Linked DNA regions of Homo sapiens: regions 2, 3, 4, 5, 6 and 7 are each linked to region 1. The links are contacts of gene promoters, found by promoter capture Hi-C in blood cells and fetal thymus (Javierre and others, 2016). All regions are on one chromosome and are shown on one strand. Each heading gives the region's core, a stretch centred on a gene start or on the middle of the fragment in contact. The rest is flanking DNA. Distances are from core to core; before and after follow the strand shown. Region 1 holds the start of KRI1 (KRI1 homolog). Region 2 holds the start of ANGPTL6 (angiopoietin like 6). Region 3 holds the start of EIF3G (eukaryotic translation initiation factor 3 subunit G). Region 4 overlaps SMARCA4 (SWI/SNF related BAF chromatin remodeling complex subunit ATPase 4). Region 5 holds the start of DNMT1 (DNA methyltransferase 1). Region 6 overlaps CARM1 (coactivator associated arginine methyltransferase 1). Region 7 holds the start of MRPL4 (mitochondrial ribosomal protein L4).

What was found. The method cuts DNA at HindIII sites, captures the fragments that hold promoters and counts their contacts. A CHiCAGO score of 5 or more calls a contact.
Region 2: the fragment with the promoter of ANGPTL6 here is called in contact with the fragment with the promoter of KRI1 in region 1 in 2 of 17 cell types (total CD8 T cells and non-activated CD4 T cells); the score reaches 6.9 in total CD8 T cells.
Region 3: a contact is called between the fragment with the promoter of EIF3G here and the fragment with the promoter of KRI1 in region 1, in 2 of 17 cell types (total CD8 T cells and naive CD4 T cells). The highest score is 6.2, in total CD8 T cells.
Region 4: a contact is called between a fragment that was not itself captured here and the fragment with the promoter of KRI1 in region 1, in 1 of 17 cell types (fetal thymus). The highest score is 6.3, in fetal thymus.
Region 5: a contact is called between the fragment with the promoter of DNMT1 here and the fragment with the promoter of KRI1 in region 1, in 1 of 17 cell types (monocytes). The highest score is 6.1, in monocytes.
Region 6: a fragment that was not itself captured here is called in contact with the fragment with the promoter of KRI1 in region 1 in 1 of 17 cell types (neutrophils); the score reaches 6.0 in neutrophils.
Region 7: a contact is called between the fragment with the promoter of MRPL4 here and the fragment with the promoter of KRI1 in region 1, in 4 of 17 cell types (total CD8 T cells, total B cells, activated CD4 T cells and 1 more). The highest score is 6.2, in total CD8 T cells.

What each region holds. Positions count from the first base shown.
Region 1 is chr19:10,564,420-10,567,590 of GRCh38, forward strand. KRI1 (KRI1 homolog) reads right to left here and starts at 1,591. Exons shown (of 19, transcript NM_023008.5): 1 at 1,487-1,591; 2 at 1,298-1,371; 3 at 510-615. The coding sequence starts at 1,580. It overlaps CDKN2D (cyclin dependent kinase inhibitor 2D), which reads right to left. Exons shown (of 2, transcript NM_001800.4): 2 at 2,041-2,998. The coding sequence ends at 2,639. RefSeq lists enhancers at 696-1,263, 1,012-1,061, 1,264-1,831, 2,780-3,171 and a silencer at 1,332-1,861. The HindIII fragment of the contact is 9,818 bases long and covers 1-2,164 here.
Region 2 is chr19:10,100,934-10,104,104 of GRCh38, forward strand. ANGPTL6 (angiopoietin like 6) reads right to left here and starts at 1,745. Exons shown (of 6, transcript NM_031917.3): 1 at 1,635-1,745. RefSeq lists enhancers at 1,755-1,804, 1,875-1,924. The HindIII fragment of the contact is 11,381 bases long and covers 1-3,171 here.
Region 3 is chr19:10,118,649-10,121,819 of GRCh38, forward strand. EIF3G (eukaryotic translation initiation factor 3 subunit G) reads right to left here and starts at 1,251. Exons shown (of 11, transcript NM_003755.5): 1 at 1,192-1,251; 2 at 1,006-1,052; 3 at 440-523; 4 at 220-308; 5 at 20-79. The coding sequence starts at 1,211. RefSeq lists enhancers at 1-753, 754-1,509. The HindIII fragment of the contact is 4,736 bases long and covers 1-3,171 here.
Region 4 is chr19:10,961,398-10,964,568 of GRCh38, forward strand. All of the region lies in intron 1 of SMARCA4 (SWI/SNF related BAF chromatin remodeling complex subunit ATPase 4), which reads left to right. Among named protein-coding and RNA genes, the nearest start is that of SMARCA4, 2.0 kb to the left of the region's middle. RefSeq lists an enhancer at 2,518-2,647. The HindIII fragment of the contact is 1,307 bases long and covers 697-2,003 here.
Region 5 is chr19:10,193,533-10,196,703 of GRCh38, forward strand. It overlaps DNMT1 (DNA methyltransferase 1), which reads right to left and starts at 1,421. Exons shown (of 41, transcript NM_001130823.3): 1 at 1,288-1,421. The coding sequence starts at 1,367. RefSeq lists a silencer at 1,125-1,364 and an enhancer at 1,625-1,854. The HindIII fragment of the contact is 2,077 bases long and covers 1,005-3,081 here.
Region 6 is chr19:10,890,544-10,893,714 of GRCh38, forward strand. All of the region lies in intron 1 of CARM1 (coactivator associated arginine methyltransferase 1), which reads left to right. Among named protein-coding and RNA genes, the nearest start is that of CARM1, 21 kb to the left of the region's middle. The HindIII fragment of the contact is 4,050 bases long and covers 1-3,171 here.
Region 7 is chr19:10,250,632-10,253,802 of GRCh38, forward strand. It overlaps MRPL4 (mitochondrial ribosomal protein L4), which reads left to right and starts at 1,583. Exons shown (of 9, transcript NM_015956.3): 1 at 1,583-1,679; 2 at 1,766-1,832; 3 at 1,920-2,070. The coding sequence starts at 1,623. RefSeq lists enhancers at 938-1,511, 966-1,115, 1,246-1,655, 1,512-2,085. The HindIII fragment of the contact is 20,723 bases long and covers 1-3,171 here.

The DNA.
Region 1 (3,171 bases), core at 341-2,840:
ATTGCAACCCAGCCTGGGCAACAAGAGTGAAACTCCATTTCAAAAAAAAAAAAAGAGAAATGGGGTCTTGCTATGTTGGCCAAACTGGTCTCAAACTCCTGGCCTCAATTGACCCTCCCACCTCAGCCTCCCAAAGTGCTGGGATTAGATGCTTGAACCACCTGCCCAGCCTGGTGGAGTTGGAATCATTCAGTCAGCAATTCCCACCTTGAATAGTGCCAAGGACACAGTCATTAACTCCACCACCAGGTAATAACCTAGGCTCTGCTAAGGACTTGTGACTTGTGAAGCAATTCATTCAATAGTCAAAACAGATGAACTGTGTAAACTGGGTAAATCCCAATCTATCCTTAAAACAGCCCTGAGGGGAGATGCTACCGTTAGATATACTTTACAGACAGGAAAAGAGGCTCAGAGAAGTCAAGTCACTTCTCTGAATCCACAGTCAGGAAAGGACCCCGGATTCTGCTCCAGAGGAAGGAGAGGTTTAGACAGGAGTGGCCCCGGACCTGTTCTGTTATAGAAGGTGGCATCTTTCTGATAAATGCGGGGGTCCTTCTTCTTCAACAAGGAGAGCGTTTTGTAAAAGTCCCGCTCCTGCTGGGGATCAAATTCCTAGGGCAGGAAAAGGGTTGGGGATAGATTTCAGAAGGGAGATAATAAGAGCCCTGGCGCCAGCAGGTGAGCTCAGCGTAGGGATTAGGATGGAGGGGGGTGGATCTGGCTGGGGAGGTCAAACAGGTGGTCAAACAGCAGGAGGGAGAGGGGCCCTCTTGGGGTGGGCAGGGGCAGGCCACAGGTAGGTACAGGATATGGGTAGAGGAAGGTGAGGGGCAAGGAGAAGGTAATTCCTGGGGAAGACAAAGACTTGACAAGGGGCAGGTGGGCTGAGGGCACAAGAGAGACAGCGGGGAGGGGCTGGGCCAGGCCGCACAGTGGGGCCAGGATCAGGGCTGATGTGAGAAGTTGGGCGCCCCACGTGGCGCAAGGAGTACACTAAAAAATGGCTAGACTCTTGAGGATGAAAGAGGAAAGGGGGGGTTCTTGGGGGACAGAGTCGCCCCACACATCAGAGTGGGCAGGTGGGGATCGTGGCAGGGGAGAGAAAATAACGGGGATTTGGCTCCCCTGGGGAGAGGGGGGGCACTGTCTGTCCCTCATGGGATGGGGAGCGGAGGATGGGACGCTCCCGCAGGGCGCTCTGGGGTTGGGGGTTCCCCCCCGTCTACATCGGGGTCGGGGTGCAGAGGGGGGCTTGGACGCCTCCGCACGTCCAGGACGGGGCGGGGACGCGCACCACGCGCTCGTCGCTTGAGTCCGACTCGGAGCTGGAGTCGCTGCTGCTGTCTCGGTCCCCGTAGCGATCCTTCACTGCGGGACACAGACGGGATGCCCCCCCCCAGGTCAGCCGGCGGGGCCACTCGACTCCCCACTTCCCAACCGGCCGGCGCGCGCAGGCTCCCGCGCGCATGCGCCCCGCACTCACGCCGCTGCAGTTCCTCGCGCTCCCGGTAGCGGTTGTACCGCGCGGCAAACGCCGCGTTCACCCGCAGCTGCGACGACCCGCGCGGTTCCGGCATGGCGGTTCTGTGGCCCATTGCGCACGCGCATTGAGGAAGCCCTGGACGGGGCGGGGCCGCCCTCAGTCCCGCCCGCATCCACTTGTAAACGAGGCGTACCGCTGCTAACCCCGCCCCTGGCTTTTCCGGGATCCCTTTCGCCTCATCACCGCAGTCACCGCCCACGGCTACGCCCCTGCGGGGAAGGCCGCGGCCACCGCCCACCCGCCCCACCCCCTGTGCTCCGGGCACCCAGCTGACATCTGGGGGCCCTTTCTCCACTCGCGGTTTCCTGCTTCCCTTCCGTTCCGACAGCGAAAACCGCTGCCCCACCCAGCTCACTCACCCTGGCGCCCTGGGAATTACTATTCTCTCCCCTCACCCACCACATCCACGATCCGCGACCCCCGTCCTCATCCCCATCAACATCCGGGATGTGTAACTCTCCATCCCAGACTCAAAAATCAGAAGCCACCCGTGCTGTGATCATGCACAAGTCTTAATTTAATGGGTAAAAACATTAAATTATTACAACATTTTTTCCAATAAAGCATAATAAATAGAATCCATTTCTTTTAAAACGCTGTACAAGAGACTGGAAAACAAGCTTCCAACAGAATATGAATAACTCATAACTCATTCTACCTTCTTATTGATTTGGGACGCTCCCCCCACCCCCCATGCCTGAAGCAACGTGCACACTTCAGGTCTCTGAGCACAGCCGGCCAAGGCCACCAGCTTCTAGGCTCCCTGGAGGTCATGACTTCACTCTTAAATGCTCTGCCCTTGGGTCTCGTCTGAGGCCCCAGCAGCCTGAGGCGCAGAAGAAACTGAACCGTTTAGGTGGCTGTGGCCTGCAGGAGCCCTTCTCTGTCCAACACACCAAAAGGAGTGAGAAAAACAAATGAGAAACGTCCCCCAAACACTCACACCCCCAAAACCAACACCTATAAGCCACAAACTGTGCTCCTCCCCTACTGCAGCAGTGGGCAGGAGAAACAAGAAGAGAAAGTGTTTCTTCCCCTCTCTTCTGATACATAACCCCACGGGGTTCTCTTGCTGGAGAGGGTGACCCCAGATCACAGCGGGGCCACCATGTGGCCCTGCAGGATGTCCACGAGGTCCTGAGCCCCTCTCTGCAGTGCCAGCTCCAAGGGTGTGAGACCCCTGGCGTCCCTGCGATGGAGATCAGATTCAGCTGCCAGAAAGCTGACCACAGCAGTGTGACCCTCTTGAACTGCCAGATGGATTGGAAGTGCCCCGGTGCCATCAGGCACGTTGACATCAGCCCCGTGCTCCACTAGGACCTTCAGGGTGTCCAGGAATCCAGTGCGGGCTGCGTCATGGACTGGACTGGTACCGGAGGTGTCCTGGACATTGGGGCTGGCACCTTGCTTCAGCAGCTCCAGGGCGATGGCGGTGCTGCCAAACATCATGACCTGTGTGAGGGACAGAGGATCAGGAGGTCCTCAAGGGAGGAGGTTCCACAAAAGGGGTCACTGGAAAGAGAAGGGTCATCCAGAAAGAGGCATCTCCCAGAAACAGGAAATGCTAGAGGAGGGGTCCTCTAGTGAACGGAGAAGCTGCATAAGCCCCCAGGAAAGTTCTTCTG
Region 2 (3,171 bases), core at 495-2,994, 460 kb before region 1:
GGGAGGCCGAGGTGCCTGTAATCCCAGCACTTTGGGAGGCTGAGGTGGGAGGATCACTTGAGGCCAGGAGTTTGAGACCAGCTTGGCTAACGTGGCGAAACCCTGTCTCTACTGAAAATACAAAAATTAGCCAGGCGTAGTGGCACGCGCCTGTAGTCTCAGCTACTCAGGAGGCTGAGACACAAGAATCACTTGAACCCGGAAGGCAGAGGTTGCAGTGAGCCATGATTGCACCACTGCACTCCAGCCTGGGCAATAGAGCGAGACTCTGTCTCAAAAAAAAATAAAATAGAGGAGTCAGGAAAGGCCTCACAGAAGAAGTGACACTTGACTGGAACAGTGCCTCATGCCTGTAATTTCAGCACTTTGGGAGGCCAAGGCAGGAGGATTGCTTGAGCCTAGGAGTTTGAGACCAGCCTGGCCAATATGGTGAAAGTCCATTTCTACTAAATATAAAAATAAAAATAAAATAAAGAATAAGGGACACTTTCACAAAGACCTGATGGAAGAGAGAGAAGAGGAAGAGCATTCCAGGCAGAGAGAACAGCAGGTGCAAAGGCCCGGAGATTGCACCCAAGAAATGGCAGAAAGGGGCCAGGCACGGTGGCTCACGCCTGTAATCCCAGCACTTTGGGAGGCCGAGGCGGGAGGATCACCTGAGGTCGAGAGTTCAAGACCAGCCTGGCCAACATGGTGAAACCCCGTCTCTACTAAAAATACAAAAATTAGCTGGGCATGGTAATGCATGCCTGTAATCCCAGCTACTACTCAGGAGGCTGAGGTGGGAGAGTCACTTGAACTCAGGAGGCCGATGTTGCAGTGAGCAGAGATTGCGCCATTGCACTCCAACCTGGGCGACAGAGCAAGGCTCAAAAAAAAAAAAAAAAAAAAGGCCAGGTGCGGTGGCTCACGCCTGTAATCCCAGCACTTGGGAGGCCAAGGCAGGTGGATCACGGGGTCAGGAGATCGAGACCATCCTGGCTAACACAGTGAAATTCCGTCTCTACTAAAAATACAAAAAAAAAAAAAAAAATTAGCCGGGCATGGTGGCGAGCGCCTGTAGCCCCAGCCACTCCAGAGACTGAGGCAGGAGAATGGCGTGAACCCGGAAGGCGGAGCTTGCAGTGAGCTGAGATCGCGCCACTGCACTCCAGCCTGGGTGACAGAGCGAGACTCTGTCTCAAAAAAAAAAAAAAAAAAAAAAAGAAATGGCAGAAATGTCTATGAGGCCGGAAGAGAGAAGGGGGAAGCAGGAGGAGGTAAGAAGTGTCAGGGCAAAGTGTGAAGGGTCCTGTGGGCCCGGAGGAGGACTTGGGTTTTACTCTGAGTCAGGCAGGAGCCATGGAGGGTTCTGGGCTGGAGATGGCCACATTTACTTCTGGACTCAGACACCAAGCAGGGGCTCACAAGGATCCGGGGGTAGGGTCCTCTCTTTGTCCCCGATCACTGACATGCCCCACCCCCCACAACAGAGATTGAGCAACCCCCCAGAACTGGGACGTGTGTATAACACCCGCTGCCTTTTACACTCTCAGCCTGGGGTGGCGGGGTGGCCTGGGGGCCCCCAAGCCAAGCTGTGGTCGGAGTTTCCCCACAGTGAGAATCAACCTCCACCTACCTTCCCACCCTCTCACCTCTGATGCCCAAGACCCTGAATCCAGCGAAGCTCACAGAACACACAAGAAGTCCAAGGAAGAGCCGAGGGTCCAGTGGGGCCTCTGAGCTAGAGACGGGGAGAGGGCAGTGGGACAGAAGGAGAGAGGAGGCTTGGTAACCACTCCCCAGCCCCCAGAGCCTGGGAGTGGAGCTGGGATGCTGGGCCCAGGAGCCCAAACTATAAATATTTAGCATTTCCCGAATGAGAAATGAGACAGAATTGCCAGACCCCCCTGCCCAGGCCACCAGAGCCTGATAACACAGGTCAGTGTCCTGGACATCCCTCCCTTTCCCCCACACCCTCCACTGCAGAGCCCAGAGCGTGGGAGGCTGCAGGCCCTGGGGCAGCCAGGCGTGATCCCAGCCCCAGACACGCACACACCACACATAGAAAGAGGAACATCACTGGGGACTTACCGTGTGTAGGGCTTGGCTCTAAACTCTCCACACCTTTTACGTATTTGATCCTTACAACCTGAGCTGGATTCTGTATGTACCCTCATTTTACAGCAGGGAAAACTGAGGCTCAGAGAGGGTAAGCAACTTGCCTGCGGTCACACAGCCAAAAAGAGACCAGGATGGGAGCCAGCCAAGGTAGCTTGACTCAGAAACTCACACATGTACACCACAGCTGTCACACACATATGGGCACATAACAGAGTGGACACAAACACACACACACACATTTGCACGCACGCACACATTAACACCCAGCGAAAGTCTGGGTGCAGTGGCTCATGCCTGAAAGCCAGCACTTTGGGAGGCCGGGGCAGGTGGATTACCTGAGGTCAGGAGTTCGAAACCATCCTTGCCAACATGCTAAAACCCCGTCTCTACTAACAATACAAAAATTAGCTGGGCATGGTGGCATGCGCCAGTAATCCCAGCTACGCGGGAGGCTGAGGCAGGAGAATTGCTTGAAGCCAGGAGGTGGAGGTTGCAGTAAGCCGAGATCGAGCAACCGCATGCACTCCAGCCTGGGCGACAAGACTGAAATTCCATCTCAAAAATAAATAAATAAATAAATAAATAAATAATAAATAAATAATAATAAAGTGAGGAATTAATTAATTAAAATAAAAAATAAATATAAAAGACACAGCTGTAAATTTTTAAATTGTGATAGAAACAATATATTCTTAAAGTGAAAACCCTACCTCAGTTACATGTGATTTATGTTTTTTGGATTAATCTGGATTTTATAATTAGAAATAAAAATGTAAGGCTGGGCGCGGTGGCTCACGCCTGTAATCCCAGCACTTTGGGAGGCCAAGGTGGGCAGATCACGAGGTCAGCAATTCGAGACCAGCCTGGCCAAGATGGTGAAACCCCGTCTCTACTAAAAATACAAAAATTTGCCGGGTGTGGTGGCCCATGCCTGTAATCCCAGCTACTCAGGAGGCTGAGGCAGGAGAATCGCTTGAACCCGGGGGGCGGAGGTTGCAGTGAGCCACTGCACTCCAGCCTGGGCGACAGAGTAAGACTCTGTCTCAAAAAAAAAAAAAAAAAAAAGAA
Region 3 (3,171 bases), core at 1-2,500, 450 kb before region 1:
TGGGGAAGAAGAGCCTCACCTTCCTCCTTGCGACAGCCTTTGAAGCCTTCCGGGTCTCAATCCTGAAGGTGCGGACAATCTGAGGATGGGAGGGGAGAAGGGTCAGGCTCCTGGGACCAAGGGATCTCCTTTATCAACCTCCTCAACACACCCCACCCCATTCCGGTCTATGGGCCCCCAAGCACAAGGGTCCCCACTCCCTGCACCCCCCACCCTCACCTTGAACTTCTTGCCATCCTCATCTATCTTGTACTCTGTCACTGTCTTTATGTTTCCGTTGATGACCTCCTTGGGAGGCGGCAGTGGAGCTGGCAGAAGGGGAAAAACAGAGAAAGACTGAGCCCTGGGTCATGGGGATCAGGAGCGGCAGGGCTGGAGGGAGAGGCAGCCCGGACACCGAGTGGCAGTCCTCACTCACCTCCCGGCAGTCCTCACTCACCTCCCGGCAGTAGCTCTGGCTCTGGGCTGGTGTCACCTGTGGCCAGAGGGATCCCCTTGAGGAGCTCGCTGGTGACACATTTGTCTGCAAAAGGCAGCGTAGGAAGGAGGAGTCAGCTCCAGGGGCAGGAGCTCCCCAGCTGCGATGGAAGGGCTTTTGGGATGACGCCTACAGCAAAAGCGGAGAAAGGCAGGCCAAGGGCAGAGGGCTGGCCAGGCAACGCACTGGGATGGCCCTGTGGGGACTCGGAGTGGCAAGGATGGGAGATCCCTCGTAGGAAGGTGGGTGCCAGGCCATGAAGCCAACCAGGCGCCAGTAGAGAAACAGGAGACGGGAGATTACAACTTCCTCCCTGGAGGGGAACAGCTGGGAGGCAGTGGCATGGGAGGAAGAGGGACCCGCCGGGGAACACCTGGAGTTGGCAACAGGCGGGTCCCAAGGAGGATGGCGCGGGGCAGGGGCAGACCGTGACGGGGTACACGGTGCCAGACTGGGAGATGGAAGCAGGCGGCAGTCACACGGCTTGGGCCTGGCCGCGAATACCCCGGGCGACCGTGTACACTTACCGTCCTCCCCCTCCTCCTCCACCTGGTCGGCCCAACTGGGCTTCGAACTGCGGAAACAAATGTGTGGGGAACGAAGATTAAGTCAGCCAGGCCCGGCTCCCGCAGCCTCGGCGTACCCAGGCCCCATAATACTTCCCAGAGCACCCCAACCGCTTCCCGTGCCCCTTTCCGCGATCGCCGACTCACTCAAAGTCTCCAGTAGGCATCGCAAAAAGTATTCTCCACGCAGCCCAAGCCCGGCCAGAGAGCGGAAGCGGGCGAAAACGAGACTTCCGGTGCCGCCGTCGCCGCCTAGAGGGGCCCAGCCGCGGCACCCACAGCGACACCTGCGGACGGAGGTGGAGGCGCACGCGGCTGTGTATGCTACTGGGCGCTGCTGGTACCAGAGTAGGGCCAGCGGGGGCAGAGGCTGATTTCAGGGCTGGTCCTATTAACCTTTAAAATTAAAATAGGCCAGGCGAGGTGGCTCAAGCCTGTAATCCTCGCACTTTGGGAGGTCGAGGCGGGCGGATCACCTGAGGTAAGGAGTTCGAGACCAGCTTGGCCAACGTGGCGAAACCCCGTCACTACTAAAAACACAAAAATTAACTGGGCGTGGTAGTGCGTGCCTGCAGTTCCAGCTACTCGGGAGGCTGAGGCAGGAGAATCGCTTGAACCCGGGAGGCGGAGGTTGCAGTGAGCCGAGATCGCGCCACTGCACTCCAGCCTGGCGACAGAGCGAGACACCGTCTCAAAAAAAAAAAAAAAAAAAAAATTAGCCAGGCGTGGTGGTGGGCACCTGTAATCCCAGCTACTCGGGAGGCTGAGGCGGGAGAATCGCTTGAACCCAGGAGGCGGAGGCTGCAGTGAGCCGAGATCGCACCACTGCACTCCAGCCTGGGGCTGCAGAGTGAGACTCCGTCTCAGAAAAATAAGTAAAATTAAAATAAATAATAATAATCATAAAGCTCACTTATTGAGTGCTTATTGTATATGAAGCATGGTGAGGAGGATATTACTTCCATTTTACAGCTGAAGAAACTGAGGCTCAGACTGGGTGCAGTGGCGCCTGCCTGTAATCCCGCACTTTGGGAGACCAAGGCGTGGGGATGGCTTGAGGCCAGGAGTTTGAGACAAGCCTGGGCAACATAGTGAGACCCCTGTCTCTAAAAAAGAAAAAAAGAAAAAGAAAGAAAAAAGAAACCAAAGTTCGGGGAAAACAATCCTTTTGCTTAAACTGTTCCTTGTCTTCTTTCCCGATCCCAATGATTCAGATGCCAAGTGGCCTCCCCTCAGCCACTCCCTCTTCTTTTCTTTGTAGCATTCTTGGCTTTCCGGTATAATTTTGTGCATTTACTTGTTTATTGCTCAGCTCCTTGCTCTAAGCACAACCGTCCTCAGTCGAAGTGATTCATGATGACTCCCCAGGGGAAAAAACTGGTCCTCAGGGAGGAAAAAAATCTTAGATATTGTGGTCTTCCAAAGCCAGCTCTATCAGACAGCATTTATCCCTAAGTATTTAGTTTCTGCCTTTAGGGAGATATTAAATGTAATTAAATTGAAATTAATTTAGTTGATGTAAATTCAATTTTAGGATAATTCGGGTTTTCTCCTAAGAAGGGTGATAATGAACAAAAAACGTTTGACAATGTCGGACGCAGTGGCTCACGCCTGTAATCCCAGCACTTTGAGAGGCCAAGATGGGCAGATCTCTTGAAGTCAGGAGTTCGAGACCAGCCTGGGCAATATGGCGAAACCCCGTCTTTACTAAAAATACAAAAATTAGCTGGGTGTGGTGGCCCGCGCCTGTAATCCCAGAACTTTGGGAGACTGAGGCAGAAGGATCACTTCAGCCCTGGAATTCGACCAGCCTGGGCAACACATAGTGAGACCCCCCATCTCTAAAAAACAACTTTTTTTTTTTTTTTTGAGATGGAGTCTCACTCTGTCGCCCAGGCTGGAGTGCAGCGGCGCAATCGCGGCTCACTGCAACCTCTGCCTTCCGGGTTCTAGTGATTCTCCTGCCTCAGCCTCCCGAGTAGCTGGGATTACAGATGACCACCACCACGCCGTGCTAATTTTTGTGTTTTTAGTAGACGGTTTAGTAGAGACGGGGGCCCACCTCGGCCTCCCAAGGTGCTGGGATTACAGGTGTGAGCCACTGCGCCCGGCCCTTAAAAAAATTTT
Region 4 (3,171 bases), core at 100-2,599, 400 kb after region 1:
GGTGGGGGGCCCGGGCCGCGTGGAGGCCGCGCGATCCTCTCCGCGCGCGCTCTCGCCGGGGTCGCCGGACAAAGCTCGCCCCCCTCGCCCGGCACCCCTACAGTCGCCCTCCCAATTACAGCGGCTGCAACAATAGGCAGGCGTTGGGGCTTTTCTGGCTGCGTGGTAACGGGTCCGACCCGAATGTTGCGTTTTTGGCGAAGCTGCGATCGGGGCTCAGCCAAACCTCCAGATATGTCCGGCGTCGGCCGGACACGGGCATTAGCGGTCCCCTTGGGCTAGCCGACCTCAAATTGTCTTAAAAACGTGTCATTCCAGATTTTCAAGGAAAGGTAAAGGACTCCCCCGATGCCTTGCAGTTAGTGACTTCAAAATGTTTGCCCGAATTGGGGTTGGGGATGGGGTCGGCGGCAAGTAGGGGAGCACGGAGGAAATCCTTTGCTGTGTAAAAGCATTGCTTTTCTTTTGCATCCTTTTTTCTCCTTCCCAATTGGTTTTTCAGATTAAGGCTTTTATTTTCAACGTGGACCTTTTGGGCGAGTGTTTTGTCCCGATCTTGAAGATACCAGTCTTGATTTTTTTTTTTTTTTTTTTTGGTCAGTGACTCCTTGGGGAAAGTAGCAAGGGAATAAGCGGAAAAGCCGCTTCGCAGGAATTTGAAGCAAGTTTTCAGTTTGGATTGATAGGCTGCATTCAAGCTTGATTCCTGGTGCTGTCAGTCACTTAGCACACTGTCACTTTAGGGAAGTGGCTTAACCTCTCTGAACCTCTTAGTTTTCCTCCTTTGTGAAAGCTCCTTTGTGAAAGGGGGTAATCTCCCAAATGGAATTGGTGAAAGCCTGTAAAATGGTTCCTCGCAAGCGGGAAGCACTATTGTAATTGTCTGGTCCAATCTCCCTCATTGTTCAGCAGATAACTTCTTGAGGCCCTACTAAGTGTTGGATGGTCGGGGGTTGGATCCTGGAGCCTCTGCAGTCTTGGAGGGGAGCGGGTGGTAAATGTGGGAACAAACTCTCTTGGCCTATCGTTTATTGCTCTGAACCTGCACTGTGAGAGGGACACAGCGGACAGGCAGGGGATCGGTGGTAGCCAGAGATCACGGGGGCTGCTTGGAAGAGGGGGCCTCAAAATCAGGGAGGGTGTGTAGGATTGTATTTTGTTTTTGAGGCAGAGTCTTGCCTGTCGCCCAGGCTGGAGTTCAGAGTCCCAATCTCCGCTCACTGTAACCTCCGCCTCCTGGGTTCAAGCGATTCTCCTGCCTCAGCCTCCTGAGTAGCTGGGACTACAGGCGCCCGCCACCACGCCTGGCTAATTTTTGTATTTTTAGTAGATATGGGGTTTTACCATGTTGGCCAGGCTGGTCTCAAACTCCTGACTTAAGGTGATCCACCCACCTCGGCCTCCCAAAGTGCTAGGACTACATGTGTGAGCCACTGCGCCAGGATTGTATTTTGACTTTCCCTGGCCACCTCGGACTAGCCATTGTTCCCCTCAGCTACATTCATACATCAACTTGGTCCTTTCCGGTGTAGCTGTCACCCCCAGCACCGTGAGAGCTGGGGTTGTGTCTGCCTGGCTGGCCCCACAGTACCCTGGGCCTGACACATAGTAGGTCTTTAGCGAACTTATGTGGATTGAATGAGGGGGTCCTGTGGAAGATCGCGTGACCATCTGTGTAAAAGGCTTGGTGCAGGGCCAGGTGCAGTGGCTCATACCTGAAATCCCAGCACTTGGGGAGGCTGAGGCGGGAAAATTGCTTGAACCCGGGAGTTTGAGACTAACCTGGGCAACATAGTGAGACCTCATCTCTACAAAAAATACAAAAATTAGCCGAGTGTGGTGGCATGCACCGGTGGTCCCAACTACTCAGGAGGCTGAGGTAGGAGGACTGCTTGAGCCAGAGAGGTGGAGGCTGCAGTGAGCCATTCTTGTGCCCCTGCATTCCAGCCTGTGCACCAGAGTAAGACTGTCTCAAAAAAAAAAAAAAAAAAAAAGAAAAAGAAAGCTTGGTGCAGGACTGGGGGTGGATTGTAAGGGATACAGGTTAGTTGTTTGAACAGTTTTTGCACTTTCCAAGCCATTGTTTCCTGAACCTCAGTTGTCCTCATCTCCCCTACAAAGTGTGGGGTGGTGGTTAGCGTGGGGTGGTGGTAAGGAGTACTCATTCTGGAATCAGACCTCCTGAATTCACACCCAGCTCTCTAAATCGTAGCTTAACCTCAAGCGAGGCGCTTAGCAGTAGGGCCCCCCACTTGTGAAACAGGTAGGACGAGGATGCCCGAAACTTCACAGGCTTCTTGTGAGGGTTGAATGAGGTCACATGGGAAGCCGCTAACACACTGCTGCACCTGATGCGTAGTGAACACTTGATTTTTTTTTTTTTTTTGAGACGGAGTCTCGCTCTGTCATCCGGGCTGGAGTGCAATGCCCCTGTAGTCCCAAGCTCCTTGAGAGGCTGGGGCAGGAGGTACAGGCTGCAGTGGACCATGATTGAGCCACTGCACTCCAGCCTGGGTGACGAAGCGAGACCCTGTCTAAAAAAAGGAATAAAAATTAATTCATGCATAGTTAGGAAAGTAATAAATGGTTTTGCATGGGCCACCTAAAATCATTTTGTGTCCAGCCCTTTAGGAGACGTAAATGTTGATCGTGCAGGCTTTTGAGCAGGGGAGGTGATGTCATCAGAATTGTGATATAGGGCAGTGCAGTGGTCTCTAAACTTCTTGTCAGTGAGGAGCATTCCAACATATGTGTATTTATTTACAATTTATTTGTGTACCTTTGCTTCTCCTTGGGAACCCTCAAAACACCAGGAGATAACCTTAGACCATTCCATGTTTTGGCTGTTTGTGGGAGGTGGGAGCATGGGAGGGACTAGGGTTTTGGGCAGATGTCTGGTGGAACTTTCTTTCTTTCTTTCTTTTTTTTTTGAGACGGAATCTTACTCTTGTTGCCCAGGCTGGAGTGCAATGGCACGATCTCGTCTCACTGCAACCTCTGCCTCCCGGGTTCAAGCGATTCTTCTGACTCAGCCTCCTGAGTAGCTGGGATCACAGGTGTGCACCACCACACCTGGCTAAGTTTTGTATTTTTAGTAGAGATGGGATTTCATCATGTTGGCCAAGCTGGTCTTGAACTCCTGACCTCAACTGATCCACCCACCTTGGCCCT
Region 5 (3,171 bases), core at 171-2,670, 370 kb before region 1:
TTTGTATTTTTAGTAGACATGGGGTTTTGCCTTGTTGCCCAGGCTGGTCTCAAACTCCTGGCTCAAGAGATTCGTCCGCCACTGCCTCCCAAATTGCTGGGATTACAGGCATAAGCCACAGCACCCAGCCTTCAAAAAAAAAAAAAAAAAGAAAAGAAAAAAAGCGGGGGTTGAACCAAATATCCATCCCTCCCCAAAGACCCAAATCAGAACCGGACTGGCCCAACCAGGTCAGTTAACAAGCCTAAGGAAATAGAAAAATGGCAAAGAGTGCTTTCACAAATCCAGCTGGAAGTGTCCACGCCTGGTGAGGGTTCCTCTGACTCACGCACACCTCACTTGAACAAGTTTTCAGGAATGAACTGATGGCGTTCATGAACAAGGGGCTGGGACCAGTGCTCCCACTGATCCTTGTGCACGGAAGTTGGACAGAGGCATGAACTGCTAAAGCCAGGGCCTCCAACATTAGACACACACTAAAGAACACACCCATGAACACACACAAACACACACGAAAGTGTAGCCAGTTCTCATTAGCAAGACTTCCCTGATGCCCACGGCTCACAGGCACAGATTTACAGGAAAAGACCAACCATGCAGCCTTCACGCTTCCCGGGCCCTGCGCTGCAATGCACGGTTAAAGTTCCTGCCAAAACATGGACTTTCCCAAGGAGCAAGAACCACACAGTCCCAACTGACAGAATGAGTACCCCACGGAAGGCTGGGCTCTCGAACATGAGCCAGCCCAGCCCAGGCCCCGACGGGTGACATCCGTCTCTGGAGGCCGCCATCGAGATGCACAGCTTTGGGGGAAAGGCACTGAGGGACCCCCCACCACAGAAGCGCCCCCGGGGACCGGGCCGGACACCGGAAGTGGAGGCCGAAGTGCCGGTGCCCGAGGGGTGTCCGTTGGCCGCGGGCTGCCCACTTCCTGTGCGACCAAGCTGGAGTCAAGAGCCCGGCCCACCGCTGCTTGAAGAAGGGGACCCCGGAAACGAACCCAAAGCTTGCTGTATTTGGGGATCAAAAGAGAACCCCCACCCCGCCTAGTTTCTAGCCACCAGGGAGCTACGGGGGAATCCACGGTCCATTTTGGCGCCAAACAGCCCGGGCACGCGCGACCGGAAGTGCCACCCTGCCCGCGCCAACTGCCGCTGCGCGCCGCACCACCCCACGCATGCGCGCCCGTCTGTCAGCAGCGGCCACCGGCCACCCCGAGGGGAAGCGACCCCCCACCCAGCGCCCTGCCTGTCCCCCTGAGTCCGTGTTCCCCCCCATGGTACCTACCGCCTGCGGACATCGTCGGGCAGCGAGATGGCCGGGACGGCCAGTGTGGGCACCCGGGCTGGGGCGGTACGCGCCGGCATCTCGGAGGCTTCAGCAGACGCGGCGGCGGCAGCGCAGGCGCCCCGGCTTTTCGCGCGGAAACCGATGGGGAGGGGCGATGAGCGGAGGCGGCGTCTACCACCCCAGTCCGGGCGTGGGGGAGGAGGGGATGTACCAAACGGAGAGAGGCGATACCCTGTGCAGAAGGATGGAACGGAGCCGGCCATGCCCAGGGAACACGCATGCGCAAGGCGGGCACACACCCCCCCCACGCGGAGCAGTGGGCTCGTCCAAGCTCCACGGTTTGCTGGGAGGTGGGCACGGTGCCCGAGGCATTCATTCATTCATTCTTTCAGGTGTGATGGGGATAAAGCAGCGAGAAGCCCCCAAGGGTTTGTGAGAGCCCTTGAGTAAAGTCCTCAGTTCCAATCCAACCTCCATCTATTTGCTGGCTATACGACCTTAGGTGGGTCACTACGGCTCAGCCTCTGTGTCCTCATCTGTAAAACGGGGTAATTGCACCTACTCTAGAAAATCTTGAGTATACACAGAATTTGTAGCTAGTACCAAGAATCTCACAGTGTATAGAGGCCCATGCCACTTCTATACCCAGTGTGTGGGGGGTTTTTTGTTGCCTTTTTTAAGCACCACGTGGCTCACGCCTGTCATCCCAGCACTTTGGGAGGCCAGGGTGGGAGGATCGCTTGAGCCCAGGAGTTTTAGACCAGCCTAGGTAACATAGAGAAACTGCATCTCAAAAAAAAAAAAAAAGAAAGAAAGAAAGAAAGAAAAAAAGAAAAACAAAAATTAGCTAGTCGTTGTGGCATGTGCCCATAGTCCAAACTACTCCAGAGGTTGAGGCAGGAAGATCACTTGAACCGGAGAGGCAGAGGTTGCAGTGAGCCATGATTGTACCACTACATTCCAGCCTGGGAGACAGAGCAAGACCTTGTCTCAAAAAAATAAAAATAAAAAGTAAGAATAAATTAAGAAGCACCATGTCAGGCGCAGTGGCTCACGCCTGTAATCCCAGTGCTTTGAGAGGCCCAGGTGGGAGGATCGCTTGAGGTTAGGAGTTCAAGACCAGCCTGAGCAACATAGGGATACCCCATCTCTACAAAAAATACAAAGATTTGCTGGGCATGGTGACACACACCTGTAATCCTAGCTACTTGGGAGGCTGAGGTGGGAGGATGGCTTGAACCCTGGCAGTGTAGGCTGCAATGAGCCATGATTGGGCCACTGGACTCCTGCCTGGGCGACAGGGTAAGACCCTGCCTCACTCTGTCACCCCGGCTGGCGTGCAGTGGTGAGATCTTGGCTCACTGCAACCTCTGCCTCCCAGGTTCAAGCGATTCTCATGCCTCAGCCTCCCTAGTAGGCTGGGATTACAGGCGTACTCCACCACGCCTGGCTAATTTTTGTATCTTCGGTGGTAGAGACAGGGTTTCACCATGTTGGCCAGGCTAGTCTGGGACTCCTAGCCTCAAGCAGTCCACTTGCCTCAGCCTCCCAAAGTGCTGGGATTATAGGCCTAAGCCACCGTAACCAGCCAGAATTTTTTTTTTTTTTAAAGCACCAGAACATGGGGGAAAGATTGTGTCTTTAACAAATGGTGCTGAGAAAACTGTATAACCACATACAAAAGAATGAAGTTGGACCCTTACCTTACACCATATACAAAAACACAAAACTTATTAAAGATTAAACATAAGACCTGAAACTATAGTGCTCCTAGAAGAAAACATGGGGAAAAGCTTCATGACAATGGATTTGGCAATGATTTCTTGGATATGACAGCAAAACACAGGCAACAAGACAAAAGATAGACAAATGGGTTTGCAA
Region 6 (3,171 bases), core at 214-2,713, 330 kb after region 1:
AGGTGTGAGCCACCCCACCGCGCCTAGCCTAAAAATTAGTTTTGTGTGGTGGTACATACCTGTGGTCCCAGCTACTTTGTTTTATTTACATATATATATGTATATGTATATACGTATATATGTGTATACGTATATACATATATACACACATATATACACACACATATATACACATGAATATATAGACACATATATACACATGCATATACACACACACATATACACACACACATATATATATATATATATATATTTTTTTTTTTTTTTTTTTTTTTTTCTTGGTATAGCTCTATCCTTCCTGAAGTCCCAGCTCCTTAGGAGGCGGAGGTGGGAGGATTGCTTCTTGAGCACAGGAGGTCGAGGCTGCAGTGTGCTATGACTGGGCGGGCCATTGCACTCCAGCCTGGGTGACAGAGGGAGACCAAAACTGAGTCAGTGTTCCCAAGCAGTGTGTGAAGCTGATTCTCTGTCAGCCACGTGCCAGATGGGTTGGGTCCCAGGGGTGGCCACCTGGGGGACAGGGCCAGACACTTGTTCTGGGCCCAATATGGCCTTGTGTCCAGAACTCTCTCGGTGGCTCCTTCTCTCGACCCTTTGCCTTGAGCCGGAGCACTGTGGGGACACAGGAACCAAGACTGGTGTTTTGTGCCAATGCCACACTACTGTGTGCCCGTGGGTCTTGGGCCGGGCATGGGTGGGTTCGTCCTCATGGCTACACAGTGAACCATGTGTTATTTTATTTTTCTAGACACTAAAGCTGAGGTGTCGGGAGGTGATGGTCCCTTGCTTGCAGGTGGCAGAGCTCAGGTTCAAACCTGGATCTTACTGCACCTGGCTCGTTTGGGAGGCCTCCCTTGCTGGAATGCAGGTCAGGGAGCCCCGATGCCCTTGGGCTGACTGCCCCACGTCCATCACACCCACTGAGGGCCGTGGGGTGGGTGCAGGGCTTGTTCTGGGAGATTCCAAGCTGAGGAAAGCAGGGCTGTCCGCCAGCCTCCAGCTGGGTCACAGAAGAGGCTCAGGGCCTGTTCCCACTCCCCTCCCCCAGCCAGCAGGGTCCAAAAGGATGTTGGGGGGGTGGTCCCCAGTCCGGCCTGCCCACTCTAGGGAGGGGCCCAGATAACTTGCGTAGACGCCGGCCCTCCCGCCCCCAGCCTTCGCCATTGCCTTTTGTCTGGCTATCTTTCATGTACAAGGGAGAAATTCAAGCCACTCAGGAGGGTGTAACATGAAAAGTCAGTCTCTCCTTCTCTCCGCACTGCCCGTGACCTGTGGTTTCTCAGGCACATACAAGCGCGCACGCATAAATCTCTCCTCCAACCTGCTGGGCTTCAAGTTATGCACGTTCACACAATGGCAAAGGAGGGTGCGGATTGAAAAGTATGACTTGCTTCCCGGAGGCAGCACTGAAGTCACTTTATTGTGTTTCCAGACAAGCCCCATGAATGCAGTGTGCACTGCCCCTCCTCCCTCTGTCCCTTCCCCGCCCATCTGTACACCTGTGGTGCGTAGGTTTTACACCACTCTGTGCCTTACGTTGTGGCTCGATCATTTAACATGTCAGTGTGTACCGATGGAAATTGATCTCTTTTAATTTGCCACATCTTCATTTATTCATTCTTTGATTAATTGATGGATATTTAGGTTTTCTGCTTTGGGGGCATTCAGATCCAGGTGTATCTCTGCAAGTAGAGCTTGTAGCATACATAAGGCCCTGCAAAGGGATTTCTGGGCCGGAAGTTTTTGATCAGTTGCTCAGACATAGTTCTGATGTGCTGGGGAAGTGCCCGTTCAGGGCCATGGCTGCAGGGCTCCTGGACACCCAGCTCCGGTGCTGGAGTGGGGTTGGGATTCGCCCAGAGGCCAGGGCTGCGCCAGAGGAGCCCAGGGTGACCTCATGGTCCTCAGATACCCGGGGCTGGGCAGCACAGTGGAACAGCTGCTCCAGAGCTTCTCCGAGGACGACATCGGAGGATCCGACTCAGGTTACGGCAGGAGAGGGAGGCCAGGCCGGGTTAGGGTTCTGGGGTTTGGGATTCTCTTCCGAGGCTGGCATTGATCTGTTGCTGATGATGGTAACAGCAGCTGCTCTTGTTTATGAAGTACTTAACACCTCCAGCTCCCTCCATTACCTAGGAATCCTCACTGCAGGGAGGGGTTTTCATCCCCATTTTGTGCCTATTTTATTTATATTATTTTATTTTTTGAGGCAGGGTTTTGCTCTTGTTGCCCAGGCTGGAGTGCTATGGCACGATTTCTGCTCACTGCAACCTCTGCCTCCTGGGTTGAAGTGATTCTGCTGCCTCAGCCTCTTGAGTAGCTGGGATTACAGGTGCCCGCCACCATGTCTGGCTAATTTTTTGTATTTTTCGGTAAAGATGGGGTTTCACCATGTTGGCCAGGCTGGTCTCAAACTCCTGACCTCAGGTGATCCACCCGCCTCAGCCTCCCAAAGTGGTGGGATTACAGGCGTGAGCCAACACTCCCGGCCCTGCCCATTTTATTTATTTATTTTTATTTTTATTTTTTTCAGATGGAGCTTTGCTCTTTTTGCCCAGGTTGGAGTGGAATGCAACCTCTGCCTCCCAGGTTCAAGTGATTCTCCTGCCTTAGCCTCCCGAGTTGCTGGGATTACAGGCATGTACCACCATGCCTGGCTAATTTTATATTTTGAGTAGAGACGGGGTTTCACCATGTTGGCCAGGCTGGTCTCGAGCTCCTGACCTCACATGATCCACCTGCTTCGGCCTCCCATAGTGCTGGGATTACAGGCGTGAGCCACTGCCCCCACTGTGCCTATTTTATTTCATTTTGAGACAGAGTCTTACTCTCTCCCCCAGGTTGGAGTGCAGTGGTGCGATCTCGGCTCACTGCAACCTCCACCTCCTGGCTTCAAGTGATTCTCCTGCCTCAGCCTCCTGAGTAGCTGGGACTACAGGCACCCGCTACCACGCCCGGCTAATTTTTTTTATTTTTAGTAGAGATAGGTTTTCACCGTGTTAGCCAGGATGGTCTCGATCTCCTGACCTTGTGACCCGCCTGCCTTGGCCTCCCAAAGGGCTGAGATTACAGGCGTGAGCCACCGCCCCCTGTCATTGTGCCCATTTTATAGATGGGGCTCCTGAGGCCAGGGGTGAAGGCAGGTGCTAGTTCGGGGGATCCAAGCCCTGC
Region 7 (3,171 bases), core at 333-2,832, 310 kb before region 1:
TAATCCCAGCACTTTGGGAAGCCGAGGCGGGCGGATCACGAGGTCAGGAGATTGAGACCATCCTGGCTAACACGGTGAAACCCCCTCTCTACTAAAAATACAAAAAGTTAGCCAGGTGTGGTGGCGGGCGCCTGTAGTCCCAGCTACTCGGTAAGCTGAGGCAGGGAATCGCTTGAACCCGGGAGGCCGAGATGTGCGATCTCACACCACTGCACTCCGGCCTGGGCGACAGAGCGATACTCCATCTCAAAATACAAATACAAAATAAAAAAATACAATACAAAAATGAGCCGGGCTTGCGTACCTGTAGACCAGCTACTCAGGAGACAGAGGCAGGAGAATCCCTTGAGCTCTGGAGGTCGAGGCTGCAGTAAGCCATGATCTTGCCCATTGCACTCCAGCCTGGGCGACAGAGGAAGACCTTGTCTCTAAAAACCAAAACAAAGAAACTAAAAATAAGCATTCGGATTTGTTAGGGGGCGACAAGGGAGGCACTCCAGGATCTGTGGACTCCCCACTTTGTTCTGTCCTTGGAGAGCCCTGGAAGGTCTGAGAGGGGACGGGACCTGGTTTAAGGGGGTAGGGGAGAGGACCCTGGTCTAGGGGGTAAGGGACACAAATACCTAATCTGAGGGGTTTCGGGGGGACATGGCCCTGCCCTGGGGAATCTAAACTGGGAGGCATGGTCTGGCAGGCCCAATCCTGAAGGCTTTCTGAGGGCAATAAGGCCCTGCCTTTAAACAAATGAAAAAACGCCAGGCACGGTGGCTCACGCCTGTAATCCCAGCACTTTGGAAGGCTGAGGCGGGAGGATCACGAGGTCAGGAGATCGAGACCATCCTGGCTAACGCGGTGATACCCGTCTCTACTAAAAATACAAAAAATTAGCCAGGCGTGGTGGCGGGCGCCTGCAGTCCCAGCTACTCGGGAGGCTGAGGCAGGAGAATGGCGTGAACCCAGGAGGCGGAGCTTGCAGTGAGCCGAGATCGCGCCACTGCACTCCAGCCTGGGCAACAGAGCAAGACTCCGTCTCAAAAAAAACAAAAACAAAAACAAAAACAAAAACAAAAAAACAAATAAAAAAACAAAACCACATAACTGGATAAAGAAAAAACCATCTCCGACAGCCTTGGAGGCGGGATGAAGGCGTGGCCCGGTGGGCGTGACCAACAGCAAAAGTTTAAGCGTTATTGGCTGTATTCCTTAGTTGCTCACTCCAGAACTGCCCACTTATGGGCGGGGGTCACTCCTTCAGGCTTAACAGTCATTGGCTGAATTGGGCCAGAGAGGTCTCATTGGCTGAATTCCTGCACCGGCTCGTCGGAGGCGGGACCCAAAGTAGGCTAGGCCTACGGAAGCTGGGTCTTCTTGCTGTGAGGTCGCGTTCCCCAGTGTTACGGAGGGTCCTTGAGGCAGGAGTGAAAATTGGGTCTGGGGGTTAGTCCTGGGGTGGAGGTCTGGGCACGCCGGGTCGGACCCCCTCCATCTTCGGTTTTGCACACCCCGCTTTCCAGCGCGGAGTCGCGGCGGGTAGGGCGGCGTCGCGTGCGTGACGTCATCCAGCGGCGCCTCGCGAGGCTCCAGTGGCCTTGACCTCCCGCGGCGTGGGAGGCTGCGCGGCGATGCTGCAGTTCGTCCGGGCCGGGGCGCGGGCCTGGCTTCGGCCTACCGGCAGCCAGGTGAGGCCAGGGGCTGGAGGCGTGGTCGAAGGATGAAATTTGGGGGTGTCCAGGGGTCGTCTCTCACTTTCGCCCAACCCTTGCAGGGCCTGAGTTCCCTGGCGGAAGAGGCAGCGCGTGCGACCGAGAACCCGGAGCAGGTGGCGAGCGAGGGTAAGGCAACCGGGGTGGCTCCAGGAGGGGCGGCGACAGAGAGGTCTGACCCTTGACCCTAACCTCTGACCCCCGCAATCGCTCCAGGTCTCCCGGAGCCCGTGCTGCGCAAAGTCGAGCTCCCGGTACCCACTCATCGACGCCCAGTGCAGGCCTGGGTCGAGTCCTTGCGGGGCTTCGAGCAGGAGCGCGTGGGCCTGGCCGACCTGCACCCCGATGTTTTCGCCACCGCGCCCAGGTGAGCGAGGGCTGTAATGGTGAACTGAGTGGCAGAGGGATGAAGAGCGGGATTTCAGGAGTCACGATGACTTTGGGCTTGTACCCTTGGGAAAGTGCTGTATTTCTACAGCCTCCGTTTCTCCACCTGTCAAAGGGGAATGATGACAGTTTCCCCTGCTGTAGCGCTGTGTGAGATTGAAGCCTGAGAGGTGACATCATCTAAGGGTTAGGGAGACAGAATTCTGGAGCCCGACTGATTAGGTTCAAATCCTGCCTTCCCCTCTTGTCCCTCAGTGTCCCTATTTTGTCAGCGGTCGGGAGGTTGCTGTGATGAATAAATGACTTAATTCTGGCACATAATAAGTTCTATAGAAATGTTGATAATCTTTGTTAACTGGTTTTTGCAAATAAGAGCACTAAAAAGACTAAACCATTCCTCGGTGCCTGGAAGAGGCTGTTTGCATTTTAGTTACCCTGCTGTTCATAACATCTCTAAGAAAATGTAGGGGCCACCCTGGGCGCAGTGGCTCACGCCTGTAATCCCAGCACTTTGGGAGGCCAAGGCGGGCGGATCACGAGGTCAGGAGATCGAGACCATCCTGGCTAACATGGTGAAACCCCGTCTCTACTAAAAATACAAAAAAAAATTAGCCGGGCGTGGTGGCGGGCGTCTGTAGTCCCAGGTACTCTGGAGGCTGAGGCAAGAGAATGGCGTGAACCCGGGAGGCGGAGCTTGCAGTGAGCCGAGATCGCGCCACTGCACTCCATCCTGGGCAACACTCTGTCTCAAAAAAAAAAAAAAAAAAGAAAGAAAAGAAAATGTAGGGGCCAGTTACTGTGGCTCACATCTGTAATCCCAGCACATTGGGAGGCCGAGGTGGGCGGATCACTTGAAACCAGGAGTTGCAGACCAGCCTGGCCAACATGATGAAACCCCGTCTCTACCAAAAATACAAAAATTAGCCGGACGTCTTAGTGCAAGCCTGTAGTCCCAGCTACTCAGGAGGCTGAGGCATGAGAATCGCTTGCACCTGGGGAGATGGAGGTTGCAGTGAGCCGTGATTATACTACTGCACTCCAGCCTGGGCGACAGAGACAGACTCCATCTCAAAAAAAAAAA